Regions from separate parts of the Homo sapiens genome. Here region 2 is linked to region 1. The links are contacts of gene promoters, found by promoter capture Hi-C in human tissues and cell types (Jung and others, 2019). All regions are on one chromosome and are shown on one strand. Each heading gives the region's core, a stretch centred on a gene start or on the middle of the fragment in contact. The rest is flanking DNA. Distances are from core to core; before and after follow the strand shown.

What was found. The method cuts DNA at HindIII sites, captures the fragments that hold promoters and counts their contacts. A contact is called where the count stands out against the background at its distance.
Region 2: a contact is called between a fragment that was not itself captured here and the fragment with the promoter of ANXA7 in region 1, in 1 of the 25 tissues and cell types used here (hippocampus).

Annotation. Positions count from the first base shown.
Region 1 is chr10:73,412,403-73,415,928 of GRCh38, forward strand. It overlaps ANXA7 (annexin A7), which reads right to left and starts at 1,656. Exons shown (of 13, transcript NM_001156.5): 1 at 1,610-1,656. RefSeq lists enhancers at 670-789, 800-879 and a silencer at 1,280-1,839. The HindIII fragment of the contact is 7,160 bases long and covers 1-3,526 here.
Region 2 is chr10:73,352,849-73,356,374 of GRCh38, forward strand. CFAP70 (cilia and flagella associated protein 70) reads right to left here. Exons shown (of 28, transcript NM_001367801.1): 2 at 1,886-1,987; 3 at 708-894. The coding sequence starts at 1,948. Among named protein-coding and RNA genes, the nearest start is that of CFAP70, 4.3 kb to the right of the region's middle. The HindIII fragment of the contact is 5,225 bases long and covers 1-3,526 here.

The DNA.
Region 1 (3,526 bases), core at 406-2,905:
TTTTAAACGTTTTTGTAAAAAGCTAAATAACACCCAGAGTGACTCAAAAAATTTCTCAACTTTGCCCAAGTGAATAGTAAGTCTAGAGTTTTTTGGGTTTTTTTTTTTTTTGTGACAGAGTTTCTCTCTGCCGCCCAGGCTGGAGTGCAGTGGCGATCTTGGCTCACTGCAACCTCTGCCTCCCGGGTTCAAGCGACTCTCCTGCCTCAGCCTCCAGAGTAGCTGGGATTACAGGCGCGCGCCACCACGCCCAGCTAATTTTTGTATTTTTAAGTAGAGACGGGGTTTCACCGTGTTGGTCAAGCTGGTCTCAAACTCCTCCTGACCTCGTGAATCTCTCGCCTCGGCCTCCCAAAGTGCTAGGATTACAGGAGTGAGCCACCGCGCTCGGGCTTTTTTTTTTTTTTTTTTAAACATTCTCTGTTAGCAATCACTTTTAAAAGACTAGAAAATCATTTTTGGTTTTCCAAACCACCTCCACCCAGTGAGTCAGTTAGTAAAAGGGCTGGGTCTCACCGTTTCTCATTGATGGCATGAAGCCCAGGAACCCAAGAGGCAGCTGTTGCAAATTTATGGGGGAAAAAATACACGAAACAGGAAGGGTGACTGAAGATACGCGCAACAGCGAATACAATTTTGCAAAACCGGCTTCTAGGTATGGTAGGATCATTTAAATCCGTCAGTGATGTGGAGAAAGAACATGGAGGCATGGCTAGTCCTCTGCACGGACAGGTAGGTAGCCAACCACCAGTGAGGACTGAAAGACAGTCCTCACTGAAAAGGACTGAAAGTTTGCAGTGGCCAAAATTATCTCTTTTACCTATTCAGTGCTTGAAACTCTTTCCTTGCCTGGAAGGTAACTCATTACACTCATCATCTAATTCGGACACATTTAGCAGATTAGCTGGCCATCAGCTGGCAAAAATCAGGGCGTTTACGGCAGTCGGAAGACAACAGCGTCATGTCTGTCACTTTACGGTGGACATCAGCCATCTACCTCTGCACCTTGGTTTCCTTGCGCAGTGTTTGCACAGGATGAGCTAATTTCAACACAGATTTGCTGCTGGTCGGGGAACAGCAATCAAATCTGGAATGCTATTCTAGAATAGCTTCCAAGAACTGTAAACGAGAACCAGTGTACGACCTTGGCCTGGCGCATTCTGTCCTACGGTTCACTAAACACAGTAAAAATTTCCCCAAGTTTCCCTAAATTCGCTGTGTCACCGGAAAGTACAGCCACTACCAGCCAGACGGCTTTCAGCACTGCCCGTGCGTTTCCCTACTCAGCCTCCCGCGAGGCAGCTGGGCCACGCTCCGGCCTCAGCCCCTCCACCTGCCCGAGGGCGGGGCGCCACTGGTCCCTGGGATTTCCAAACGGACGGAAGGGCTTCCCGTAAGCCAGGCCGGCCGCCTCACCCACGCCACCCCAACACACCCCGGCCGGCAGCCCGGCTACGAGACGCGCAAACCGAGTCGCCGCCATCCGGGAGGCCCACACTGCCCTCCAGCCGCGCCCCACTAGCACCGGGACAGCAGCGCCCAGAGCTGGCCGAGGGCAAGACCACCGAGGCAGACGAGGTGGGAAAGGGAGGGGGGCGCCGCTCCTCACCTGACCCCAGCAGCAGCGTCACAGCCCAACCCGGTCTCCCGCAAGATGGAGCCGGGGGCGGGCCCAGGGTGGGCGGGGCGTCTCGCGAGCCCGTTAGGATCGCGGCTGCAGCCGGGAACACCCCCGGAGCCGGAGAGGGCGCTGCGGGGAGCGGGCTGTCCCTCAGTCCCGCCCCTAGGCGCCACCTGAGGGAAAAAGACTCTCCCTTCGGGTGGCCCAGCGGATTTTTAATCACATTTATCTGTCGCAAGGACCCTGCACCAATCCCTTTTAAGGCTGCCTCAAGTCACCTAGGAAGTTGCAGCAGTCCTGGGGGTATCCGGGGCCCCTTCAGTGGCGGGCGGTAGAGAAGGGCTGAGACTGGGAGGCTGGTGCAGCCTCCCCGCCTCTGAAATACCGTCCTCCAGGTATTTTCTGGGGACAAAGACGGCGTTTTTTGTTAGCCTCCTGTGAAAGTAATATTTGTGGGAAATCTTAGTTGGAACTGTAGATGAACTAATCAAAATCACTCCCGAAAGGAGTTGTTAGGTGATTTTAGGCTCCCCTCGTGGCTACAGCATTGAACACACATTAGCATTAAACATTTGAGGCAATTACGAGGGCTCAGATCAATATTTTAAACTCGTTAAGGAATTTATATTACAGAGAAAACCAATCAGCTACCTTTTAGAGTGGTAAAAGGTAGCTTCTGGGTGTGGTCCCCCGAACAGCAGCATCACCTGGAAACGTGTTAGTAACGCAGATTATTGAACTCCACCTTAGACCTACTGAATCAAACTCCCCGGGTGGTGCCCAGCAACCTGTTTTAACAAGCCTTCCAGGTGGTTCTGATGCACACTAAAGTTTGCACATCTGATGCACATCAACTTACTTATTCCTCTACACACTTTTCTACCCAAAAGCTTCCTCATGGGGGTGGAATAGAGTGGATTACGATTTTAAATGGGAAGAGCAAGCAAAATATACGTGGCTTCCAAATAGGTGTGTGGAGTGAAAAGTATTTGAGGCAGGTCATTGCCTCATTTAACAATGGTAGACAAAATGCACAACTCTCTAGGTGACCAGCATTAATTCCCCGGCGCCCAACAGTCTGTCTACCTGGAAAATAACAGGACTTTCTGTCCTACCTACCCCAGAGACCTCCAGGATTTAAGCCTTCCCTGAGAAGCCTACTCTGTTCATTCTAGAGTTCCCTTTGTGAGCTCGTTCCAAACCCTCCCTCTGCCTTAAATACCACCATAACAGGGTATTTGCCAAACCTCTTATTTCCAGCCCACTTTCCTGAGCTGCAGGAATAGTCCAATAGTCTACTACGACATTTGCCATTTCATCCTTTCAATTCATCCTTTCTTCCTGGCATAAAAGGCGTTACAGGATCGGAGACCCTTTCCTCCTGCTACCTCTGCTTAGAAAGCACTGCTCATCTTTTAACAATTACTCATCTTAATTAGACTTGTTTTCAAGGTTGCTCATCTCCGTCTTGCTCCAATAAACTCTTCCTGATCTTCTTTTTTGTACTCAACTGGACCATTTTAATTTTTTAATTTTTTTGGAGACAGAGTCTTGCTCTGTCACCCAGGCTGGAGTGCTGTGGTGCGATCTAGGCTCACTGCAACCTCTGCCTCCGGGGTTCAAGCGATTCTCATGCCTCAGCCTCCCGTGTAGCTGGGAGGCATGTCACCACGCCCAGCTAATTTTTTTGTATTTTTAGTACAGATGGGGTTTCGCCATGTTGGCCAGGCTGGTCTCGAACTCCTGGCCTCAAGCGATCCACCTGCCTCAGCCTCCCAAAGTGCTGGATGTATTACAGGCATGAGCCACCATACCTGGTCAACATCTCTGAAGGCCATGGTATGTTCCAGAGTTCATGTGAAATAAGAGCCATCATGCTTCTAATGTGAACATCCCACTGTATCA
Region 2 (3,526 bases), core at 677-3,176, 59 kb before region 1:
TGCTTTGCAATTTTTATTATGACTTTTTTATTTGTCCCATGAATGATTCATAAGTATGTTTTTAAATTTCCAAATAGCTTTTTGGCTTTTTGTTATTGATTTCTAATTTTGTTGATTGTTACATTTTGGCAGAAAAGGTGGTCTGTATGCTGTTGATCCTTTGATCTATGGTAGGACTTGCTTTATCGCTTAGAATGTGGCCAATTGCTATCATAAAAATGCTCCTCCTGTGTTTTAAAAATATATATATTCTTTAATGGTTAGTACAAGCCTATGATTATTCCTAGGGAAGACTTTTTTCTCTACCCAGGATCTAGACAGAGATGCTGATAAGCAGATTTTATTTTCCTGGTCCATACTTTCTGAGAGTCTTAACTTGTGATGGGGAGGTGATCTCAGTCTCTATTCCCCCATCAACAACAGCCAAAGGTTTTCTGTCCTTGTGAGAGCATTAAAACCCAAGCCCCTAGGTTTTGGAGTACTGCCTTCTCCCTGCACACTTCCACTAACACATACACACCAATGGCAGCTGTTCAAGATTTTCACGTTTCAGTTCCTGCCTTGCTTCTGGGAACAAAGGAACTGTCCTTTCTTTCTCATGATTTTAGTTACATGTTTAAAAGAATGTTTTGGTTGTGCTTTTCCCATCCAACATGATAGGGAAGAAGGCAATCGGGACATTGATTTTTAGAACCACAAGGACTTACAGAACACAGGTTTGTGAGCGAGGTCATCTGAAGTGATTCCTCCTTCAGGATTAAACTCAAAACTGCTAGTGAAGTTGTATTTTGCACTTCCTTCTGGAGAAACAGTAATTTTTGCAGAGTCTCCCAGAACCACTTGATTGAATTCTGCTCGAATAAAGGTAACTGGAGTATCTCCTTTAAAACCTTTCTGTTGGCAGAAACACACCACTTTACAATTATATTCAAATAGAGAATTTTCCCACACATCTGGTAACCCATTTTGATTTGGGCTAAATAGCATTTTTCATTTTTTCCTAACGAGCAACATCACAAATACAAAAGGAATAGGTAGAAAAATCATTAAACAAATCTAGTTTTACTTAAATGCAACATTCCATTGAAGTGCTGTTATGTTGGAGTCTTGAAAATAACATTTATTGTGTTTCACCTAATAATAAAAGTATACTGTGGAACATTTTTTTTTCTGTTTGTTTGTTTGTTTTGAGACGGAGTCTCGCTCTGTCACCCAGGCTGGAGTGCAGTGGCGCGATCTCAGCTCACTGCAAGCTACTGAGGAACATTTTTAAAAGTAAGAAAATTAATTACCTACAATCTTACTGTAACATGCAAGCATTATTAATATTTTAGAATATATTTTCTAGTGTTCTGCTGTGAATATATGGATGTACGTGTGTGTACCCATACATGCACACATAGATACATTTTTATATATGCATTTTAAAACAAAGTGGAGCTCATTAATTACATCCTCTTTGGAATGATCTTTTTAAACTTAATATACTGAATATTTTCCCATTTCATCATATTCCTAATTTTTAGTACATCACATTGTTGTTGTTTTTTTAATTAATCAAATAGAATTAATCACAAGGGAAACTCTGGAAGAATTCAGATCCTTCTCAGGAGAAAGGGAAAAAAATTATACGTGAACTGCTGTCTAGGGAAACTAAAACCACTGTTTCTTTCATCCTGTTAAATTTAGTATTCAAATTGCCGGGTATTTGAGACACACAGTAATGTGACTTGGAGATTAAGACTAACAATAAGGAACACTGAGGCGGAATGCCACTGCTACATAAAGCCAGGAGGTTTGGAGGTAGAGAATGAAGCAAAATTCCATTCCTCCTGCAGGTACTCCCAAACTAAGGATTTTTGTAAATTTCCAAAAGTAACTTTACCAAATCATATCCCTCTGTCACGGTGATCTGCACGAGTCTGCCTGCTGATGGCACTTGCTCCATATCACCAACTGGGAAAAGTCCCTCTGTTTTCTTTGGTCTCTGTAAACAGAATGAATCAACCTGTCCCCTCATGTACCACAGCTGCACAAGTACCCATATTCCATCATAACCAATACCAGGGAAAACCTAAGGAAATGCCATAGTCCAGCACTGTTTTATTCCCCATATCCAACCTTTGCTGTTGGACAGGCAGTGCTTTAGGGAGCTGGTCACAAGGATGATTTCACTGGTAGCGCTAAAGATGTTTATACAGGTAACTAACCCATTAAGCACAAAGTATCACAAGACAAAGTAGGAACACCTTGACCTCCCATACCCTACATCAGGGGTCCCCACCCCGAACCATGAACCAGTACCAGCCCGTGGCCTGTCAGGAACTGGGCTGTACAGCAGGAGGTAAGCAGCAGGCGAGCAAGCAAAGCTTCATCTCTATTTACAGCCACTCTGCATCACCTGCATTACCACCTAAGCTCTCTCTCCTGTCAGATCAGTGGCAGCATTATATTCTCACAGGAGTGCGAACCCTATTGTAACTGATGCATGCAAAGGATCTAGGTTGTGCACTCCTTATAAGAATCGAATGCCTGATTTGTCACTGTCTCCCATCACCCCCAGATAGGACTGTCTAGCTGCAGGAAAACAAGCTCAGGGCTCCCACTGATTCTACATTATGGTGAGTTGTATAATATTTCATTATATAGGCTAGGCACGGTGGCTCACGCCTGTAATCCCAACACTTTGGAAGGCGAGGCGGGCGGATCACCAAGTCAGGAGTTCGAGATCAGCCTGTCCAATACGGTGAAACCCCATCTCTACTAAAAAATTCAAAAATTAGCCAGGTGTGATGGCACATGCCTGTAAGTCCCAGCTACTTGGGAGGCTGAGGCAGGAGAATCGCTTGAACACGGCAGGCAGAGGTTGCAGTGAGCTGAGATCACACCACTGAACTCCAGCCTGGGCAAAAGAGTGACTCCGTCTCAAAACAAAAAAATTTCATTATATATTACCGTGTAATACTAATAGAAATAAAGTGCACAGTAAATGTAATGTGGTTGAATCATCCCCGCTGCCCCCAGTCTGTGGAAAAATTGTCTTCCACGAAACTGGTCCCTGGTGCCAAAAAGGTTGGGGACTGCTGCCATACACTGTTCACAGTGTTCTCTGGTAACCGTTTTTTTTAATCTGCAAAGCTCCCTTCAAACATTATTTAACTTCTCAGTTTTACAAAAATATATTTTGAGAGCAGGAAAGAAGCAGCCACACAAAATGGTAGTCCACTGGAAAAGGTCTTAATGTATTTCTTATTTAGTCAGATATACTGTCAATTTTACAATACTAAGGGCACAAACAATTTCGATAATAAATTGGATATTTGTTTTTTGGAAAAGGTCTTTTATCTCTCCTTCCTTCCTTTTTTTTTTTTTCAGGCTCTCATTCTGTCACCCAGGCTGGAGTGCAGTGGTGTGATCACAGCTCACTGCAGCTTCAACCTCCCAGGCTCAAGTGATTGTCCCACCTCAGCCTCCTGAGTAGCTGGGACTACAGGCATGCGCCACCACGCCCAGCTAATTTTTGTAT